3 separate regions of the Homo sapiens genome follow, and all the other regions are linked to region 1. Evidence: promoter capture Hi-C in 16 types of primary human blood cells and fetal thymus (Javierre and others, 2016). All regions are on one chromosome and are shown on one strand. Each heading gives the region's core, a stretch centred on a gene start or on the middle of the fragment in contact. The rest is flanking DNA. Distances are from core to core; before and after follow the strand shown.

What was found. The method cuts DNA at HindIII sites, captures the fragments that hold promoters and counts their contacts. A CHiCAGO score of 5 or more calls a contact.
Region 2: a fragment that was not itself captured here is called in contact with the fragment with the promoter of HOXA13 in region 1 in 1 of 17 cell types (endothelial precursors); the score reaches 6.2 in endothelial precursors.
Region 3: a fragment that was not itself captured here is called in contact with the fragment with the promoter of HOXA13 in region 1 in 1 of 17 cell types (endothelial precursors); the score reaches 6.1 in endothelial precursors.

What each region holds. Positions count from the first base shown.
Region 1 is chr7:27,198,772-27,201,374 of GRCh38, reverse strand. It overlaps HOXA13 (homeobox A13), which reads left to right and starts at 1,284. Exons shown (of 2, transcript NM_000522.5): 1 at 1,284-2,219. The coding sequence starts at 1,298. It overlaps HOTTIP (HOXA distal transcript antisense RNA), which reads right to left and starts at 954. Exons shown (of 3, transcript NR_037843.3): 1 at 854-954; 2 at 1-752. The HindIII fragment of the contact is 3,899 bases long and covers 1-2,581 here.
Region 2 is chr7:28,053,236-28,055,838 of GRCh38, reverse strand. All of the region lies in intron 1 of JAZF1 (JAZF zinc finger 1), which reads left to right. The region is part of intron 2 of LOC105375208 (a long non-coding RNA gene); the gene reads right to left. Among named protein-coding and RNA genes, the nearest start is that of JAZF1-AS1, 130 kb to the left of the region's middle. The HindIII fragment of the contact is 2,180 bases long and covers 194-2,373 here.
Region 3 is chr7:28,005,316-28,007,918 of GRCh38, reverse strand. All of the region lies in intron 1 of JAZF1 (JAZF zinc finger 1), which reads left to right. Among named protein-coding and RNA genes, the nearest start is that of JAZF1-AS1, 170 kb to the left of the region's middle. The HindIII fragment of the contact is 3,147 bases long and covers 1-2,603 here.

The DNA of each region.
Region 1 (2,603 bases), core at 35-2,534:
AGCACCAACACCCTACCATGCTCCCAAGAAAAGGTTGCATTTCCCAGGCACAGAGGAAAGGCTTCTTGGACTGGTTCTTGGGCAAAGAAGGACTAGGCACCCTCTGCAGGCTGGAGATCCTACTTGAGGGGAAGGCAGGAAGTGGCCCCAAAGAGCCCCTTTTTCTTGTCCCAAAATAGAGTGAAATAGCGGGTTCCCAGATTCCTGGAGAGTCAGGTCCGGTCCACAAAGAAGCGTGGCTTTAGGGCCCAGAAGGGGGGTTTAAGTCCCAGCCAGAAGCACAGCTGGGGCTTGTTCCTCTTAAGCCCCTTCCAGAACTAAGCCAGCCATACTGGCGAGGTGGGAGCATGGATGAATGGTGCACAGGGATCGCTCGCTCTATCTCAAAGTCTCTGGAGGAGGAAGCGTTGTTACCAGGTCAGAGCAAGGATCAGGCTGTATACCTAAGTGTGCGAATGTGAGTGTGTCAGTGTACACTGTGTGTGTGTGTGATGAGTCGTTCTGAGTCTATGGGTCTAAATGCAAACATATGAAATTGCTCACTAACAGTGTGGACAGGGAAGGGATAGGGGCTCCTAAATGCAGTCCAAGCCTCCAGTGGAATGTCCTGGGACCCAGGCATATCCGCAGGAACCGATAAGCAGCAAACACCCTGCCACTGTTTCCCTGGAAAGAGCAAAATCGCAACTCCATCGAAGCCGAAGGCGCCGATGTCCGTCCTGTGGTCTCACTGCAGAAATACGCGCCGGTTCCTGGAAAGAAAACAGTCCCAGAGGCTCCAAGAAACACCCATTCTGAGCTAGGCTGGTCCCGTCCTCCCCACTCTCCCATCCCTGACCGCCGGCAGAATTACCTGACCTGTCCCCACTGCTCCAGATCGCAACCCAATCGCGCGCCCACCTCCCCTCCCCGCCTGGTTGCGCGGGTCTGGGCCCCACTGGGATAAAGGAAGGGAAGGGGGGCGGAGATGGGGCCGCCTTCCTTCCCTGCCCCACCCGCACGTTCCTCCGCCTCTCCCCCGGGTGAATGGTGCGCGGCCGCGCGGCTGGCGCTGGGGACGGCGCGGGCCGCGGCGGGGACGACGGGTGCACCGTGCAGAGCTGGAGTCGGAGCCGCCCGCTTTGCATACGCCGTGGGCGGAGCGGGGGGGCCGGGCCAATGGGCGGCCGCCTGGCGCGACCCCGCGGGGCGCGATCCGCCCCCCTCGCTCGGGCCCCGGCCCCGCGCCGCGCGCTCTTCACTTCTTGGGGGCTTTTTAAAACAGCGCCACTGGGGTCTTCTCCATGCGGCTCGGGCTATGACAGCCTCCGTGCTCCTCCACCCCCGCTGGATCGAGCCCACCGTCATGTTTCTCTACGACAACGGCGGCGGCCTGGTGGCCGACGAGCTCAACAAGAACATGGAAGGGGCGGCGGCGGCTGCAGCAGCGGCTGCAGCGGCGGCGGCTGCCGGGGCCGGGGGCGGGGGCTTCCCCCACCCGGCGGCTGCGGCGGCAGGGGGCAACTTCTCGGTGGCGGCGGCGGCCGCGGCTGCGGCGGCGGCCGCGGCCAACCAGTGCCGCAACCTGATGGCGCACCCGGCGCCCTTGGCGCCAGGAGCCGCGTCCGCCTACAGCAGCGCCCCCGGGGAGGCGCCCCCGTCGGCTGCCGCCGCTGCTGCCGCGGCTGCCGCTGCAGCCGCCGCCGCCGCCGCCGCGTCGTCCTCGGGAGGTCCCGGCCCGGCGGGCCCGGCGGGCGCAGAGGCCGCCAAGCAATGCAGCCCCTGCTCGGCAGCGGCGCAGAGCTCGTCGGGGCCCGCGGCGCTGCCCTATGGCTACTTCGGCAGCGGCTACTACCCGTGCGCCCGCATGGGCCCGCACCCCAACGCCATCAAGTCGTGCGCGCAGCCCGCCTCGGCCGCCGCCGCCGCCGCCTTCGCGGACAAGTACATGGATACCGCCGGCCCAGCTGCCGAGGAGTTCAGCTCCCGCGCTAAGGAGTTCGCCTTCTACCACCAGGGCTACGCAGCCGGGCCTTACCACCACCATCAGCCCATGCCTGGCTACCTGGATATGCCAGTGGTGCCGGGCCTCGGGGGCCCCGGCGAGTCGCGCCACGAACCCTTGGGTCTTCCCATGGAAAGCTACCAGCCCTGGGCGCTGCCCAACGGCTGGAACGGCCAAATGTACTGCCCCAAAGAGCAGGCGCAGCCTCCCCACCTCTGGAAGTCCACTCTGCCCGGTAAATGACGACCTATTCCCAGCCCTGGTCTTCCGGCTCTGCTCCAGCTTCTTCTCCGCTCGCACCCGGGCGATCCCGGGTGCGTTTCTGTTCTCTTCCTGGTCTGCCCTAGCGGCTCTGCACCCCTGGGAGCCCGAGCATGGCTGGCTGGGTCTGCCTGCACTGCCTCGAGTTGAGCTGGTCCCTGGCTCTCCCTGGGTGAGGGGTGGCTTGTGGAGACCTCGGCTAGCTTCCCTCTCCCTCTGCGCCCCGCCCTCCCCAGCCCCTGACACCAATTTAAGGATGAGAAATTGACCAGAAAACAGCTCCCCAAATTGCCCCTCCCTATTCATTCTCTCAAAAATGGCTTCAGTGTAGAAGCTTCGAGTATTGGGACGGGCACCC
Region 2 (2,603 bases), core at 34-2,533, 850 kb before region 1:
ATTGCTTTGGTGTTTTCAGGAATAGAAATGATCTGTATTAAAGCACAGTGTGTGGGAAACAGGCTCTCCTTCAGGAAAGCTATTATCATCAAATCAGCAAATAATCGTTGTGCATCTACTATGTGCCAGCCGCTCTTCCAAGCCCAAGAGATACATTGGTGAATACAACAAAGAGCCTTGTCTTCGTGAAGCTTACATTGTATGTAGTAAATGATATTAAAACATTATTAATTATCAAATCCATAATAAACAAAGATCTCTTGCTGTTACTATTAGAGTATTCATTTGGAGGAAGCTGGAAAGGTATACATACATATGTTTAACAGTCCAAGATGGAAATTTGGGGAGGGGTGGAGGTAGAGGAGAGGAAATCACACGCACCAAAGTGTGGGCTGGGAGATCTTCATAGGACGGGCTTAGGGAAGGCTGTTGAGGGGTGTTTTGGGCCAGGGCATGTGGCTAACCCTGGAGTGGGGAATGAGTGCCAGGCCAGGGAGTTTATAGACAGTGATAAACCGTGGAGAGCCATCAGGGATTTTTACCCTGGAATATGACTTGATCAGAGTGGAACTTCAGGAATTTTAATGTGTTAGTGATGCAAAAAGGGGATGGGAGGGAGAGAGACTAGACTAGAAGTTGGAGACATCAGGTCATTGCAAAAATTTTTTTTTTTTTAAAACACCTGAAAGGAATGAATTGGAGCCATCCTCTGTCATTTAGTAAGTCTATATTGGGAACTTTTAAAATTTAATTTCTCAAAGTCTTATTAACATGTAGTACACGAATTCTAAGTGTACTTGACTGATTTTTACCCATTGCATAGTTCATCTATAGCCCTGGTAAACACCATCCAGATCGAGATAGAGCACATTGCCAGCACCTATATTGAGAACTTTTACCTCAAAATGCAATGTGAGCGCCATGCACTGTAGCTTGTTTTAGGGAGGGATGGTGTGGGTAAGTCTATGAGGTAAATCCTACCTAGCGCCAGCCGTCTTTTCAGCTCTCCGGTCCATCTCCCTCCCCTTCCTTCCTGAGCAGCCAGTTGCTACATTAACCAGACAGCAGGAAGAAAGGCAGACTGTGTCTACCAGCGTCTGCACCTCTTCCTGCGTTAACTTTTTAAGTGGGATACACGAGGCACATTTACCCTAATGGCCTCGAGCATGAGAGAATCACATATTATACCAGGCCCTGGGTTTCCTAAAGGGAAATGGCAGAAATATTTACAAGTAGCTTTAGTGTGGCCAGAACATACCCAAACAGACTGCAAATAGAGATCCTGTCAGCAAGTGTACAAGGGGAGGCTTCACTGGGTCTAGGGGCATGACTAGGGAGCAAGGGCCCTAGGGTCAGTGTTTTTTGCCATTCTCCCTCTCAAAAGTAATGGTACAGTGTTCTCTTCGTATATAGGAAAGGACCCATTTTCGTTCCAGTGCTGGTGACTGCCTTGCCATACACTAGTTGAATATCCATGTATCAGTTGTTATAAAGGACAACTGGGATTGGTTAAATTTAAAAGGGTAGATTCTTTTTAAGTTGTATCTCTTCAACTTCTATAACTACTATGGGGTCAGTTTTATGCTAGAGCAAATAAGAGAGCCATCCTATTAATAGATAAATGGTATTGATTGAGCAAGAATGATGACTGAAAGTAGTGCTTTGTATATTTAAGTAGATATAGGATTATATGCTCTGTGGAAAATAGAATTTGAAGGTTTTGTTCTACTTCACTAATTGGTTTGAGGCACATTTACTTTTCAGAATGAAGATGGGAAGTTTATACTTGGGGAGGTATATATGCAAAGTGAGAAATAGACAAGGATTCCTACCCTAATTGAAGAAATTGAATTTTAATCCTGGAAGGAGCATAAAGACTAATGGCTTTCCTTTTTTCCTTTTCTTTTTGCTTTATTCAACAGTTTTTTAAAAAGATTGATGCAGAGCTGCTCGGGGTGTGAGGTGGGGTGGGAAAGGTGAGGATGGAAGGGTCCTGTGAGGCCCTCTAGCATCTTCTCAGTATGAGTGGATTCAGCCTGTGTCTTCTTAGCCCCCTCCAGTTCTTTCCGTACCTTTCCACTCCTTTGCTCAAAAGCCAAGTGCCAGTGTTATGAAATTTAAGAAAAGCTATTTCATTTCAAACTCTTATTGGTTGAAATCTGTCATTGGGATCACAACATATTTTGGTTCTTTGGGATACTTTTTGCCATTAATAGGAGGTATGAAAATACTGTTTTATCTATTGTTTTCTTTTGCTATATAGTAGAATCAATTTCTTCAATTATTTCCTGAATACACTCCTGTAAAAGATTTCTTCCTCCTATCTGTGTAATTGTCATAGAATTGGCAAGGATGCAGAAAAATTGGAAAGCTTATGCATTGTTTATGGGAATTAAAAACAGTACAGCCATTATGGAAAACAGTTCCACAAAACATTATAGAAAACATGTTCCTCAAAAAACTGAAAATAGAATTACTGTGTGATTCACCAAACCCACTTCTGGGTATATATCCAAAATAATTCAAAGCAGGGTCTCAAAGAGATATTTGCACGCCGAAATTATTTACGCTATTATTTACAATAGCCAAGGAGTACAAGCAAC
Region 3 (2,603 bases), core at 69-2,568, 810 kb before region 1:
AAGCACTTTTTAGCGAGGAAAAAAAAGAACTCTAGTGGGGAATGCTAGTAATGGGAGAGGCCATGCATGGGGTGGGAGCAAAAGTATATGGGATATCTCTGTACCTTCCTCTCCATTTTGCTGTGAACCTAAAACTGCTCTTTTAAAAAGTCTAATTTTTAAGTCTTTTTAAAAAAGGGAAAGAGGCATGTCTCAGACCTGTATGCTTTCCCATCCAGCTGGTCACCTGGTCAATTTGTATTGATTCCTGCCACCATGGCAATGAGGCCAAAACCAACCACTTAATTCAGAGAGTTGCCTGCCAGCCCCAAGAGCAACCTTAGTGTCCAGAAATAATTTTTTTTTTTTTTGAGATGGAGTCTCACTCTGTTGCCCAGGCTGGAGTGCAGCGGCATGATCTCGGCTCACTGCAACCTCCGCCTCCCGGGTTCCAGTGATTCTCCTGCCTCAGCCTCCCCAGTAGCTGGGATTACAGGCACACACCACCACACCTGGCTAATTTTTGTATTTTTAGTAGAGACAGGGTTTCACCATGTTGGTCGGATTGATCTCGAACTCCCTACCTCAGGTGATCCTCCCACCTCACCACACCCGGCTAATTTTTTTTATTTTCAGTAGAGATGGGGTTTCATCATGTTGGCCAGACTGGTCTCGAACTCCTAACCTCAGGTGATCTGCCCACCTCGGCCTCCCGAAGTACTGGGCATGAGAAATATTTGGGTCCAGAAATAATTCTATGCCTAGAGTCAGACGTGGGCAATCAAAAACATAAACTTTATTGGAAAGATCAGGAATAGCATACTTTTACCTGCTCCTAAGTTATGGGGCTGTTGACATCCCATTGCAGTAGCTGGATAGCACTTAAAGAGTGGGAATTAGGCAAGGTGGGGTGCCTGGAAAGTGTTCCATGTGCTTCTGGGGCCATGTAAGATGATGTTGGGTCATACAAGAACAAAAATGTTTTATGCTAATAGTTACATAATGCTTATTTTAATTTTGTCATAAAAAATCCATGTTCATTTATGGAAGAGATATAATAAAATCACCTTAAAAGTTAAAATACAAAGGAAAGGCCACCTGGCAATTTAATTAGAGAGCATTGTTACTGAACAGTGTTTCAGGGCTCCATGCTATGAAACAAGTTATTTCTACTCAGGGGAAGCAGCAAATGTGGTCAAATAGCACATACTTTGAAGTCAGACAAACCCAGATTTAAGGCTTTATCTCCTGGTCCTGTGATTTGGGCCTTTTCTGAGCTTTATATTTTCCTCTGGGAAGTGGGGTGGGTCAGGAGATATCTCCCTTACAGGATTTTCATGAGGACTGCACACAGAAAGCAATTCATTTTGTATTGACCCATAGTAGACACGCAGTGATAGTAATAATATCTTTATTATCAGTTATTATTGCTACTTGAGAACTATTGATTGTTCACAAATGTAGTCCCACAACGCAAGCACTAAATGCTTTCAGACCTTACTACCTAAAATAATAATGGTACCTAGTGGGTAAGTTTTTGGTGTTTGGGGTTTTTGTTTTTTGTTTTTTTTGAGACACAGTCTTGCTCTGTTGCCCAGGCTGGAGTGCAGTGGTGCCGTCTTGGCTCACTGTGACCTCCGCTTCCCAGGTTTAAGTAATTCTCCTGACTCAGCCTCCTGAGTAGCTGGGACTACAGGAGCACACCACCACGCCTGGCTGATTTTTGTATTTTAGTAGAGATGGGGTTTCACCAAGTTGGGGTGATCCAGCTGCCTCTGCCTCCCAAAGTGCTGGTATTACAGGCATGAGCCACTGAGCCTGGCCCCTAGTGGGTAAGATTTATTAAGTATTTATCATGTACCAGCCACTGTGCTCTGTGCTGTCTATGGCTTATCTCTTTTAATCCTCTTAATAACCTCTTCATGTGTAGGAGCCATGAGTCACTGTCATCTTTATCTGCTGAGAAACTTGCTCAAGTCACACAGAAAGTAGCAGACTGTCAGTAACTACCATCTTACATTGTCTAAAGAAATTTAAGCCTTTTTTTTTTTTTTTTTAAGCAACAGAAAGTCCAGAGTTAATTCCCAGAAGTCCTTCCACAGAAGCCAAGATTGTCAGGAGCCATCTGCCAAGTGCCAGATAACTGAGAAGGTCCAGGGACTTCCCAGACACCCAAATTCACACCATCAGCGAGATCAATTGAGTTACAGCTCAGCATGCTCCCCTACTCATTAGCAAGTAGAATGAATACACAACTTGCACAGAATCAGGAACGATAAATCCCCAGCTAGCACATAACCTCTGTGGCCCACGAACCTGAACACTGTGTTCCTGGCTGCCACCTGGGTGTGGAGTCGGCAGGCATAATGCTCTAGCCAGCCTGGCAGAGCCTCTTGGACCAGAATTTGACCTGAGTAAGCTGTGACCTATGTGCACTTACATTTGATAACTCTTAGGCAGGGCCATCCAGTCAGTCTGTGTCCAGATGTTCAGCTCTTTCTCCTGTGACTTTTTTTTTTTTTTTTAAGCAATGATTCGGCTTCCCTGGGAGATAGGAAGTAACGAAGGCAATTCCTTTTGTCAAATCCTTGACAAAACTGGCTTCCGAAATACAAAACTAATAT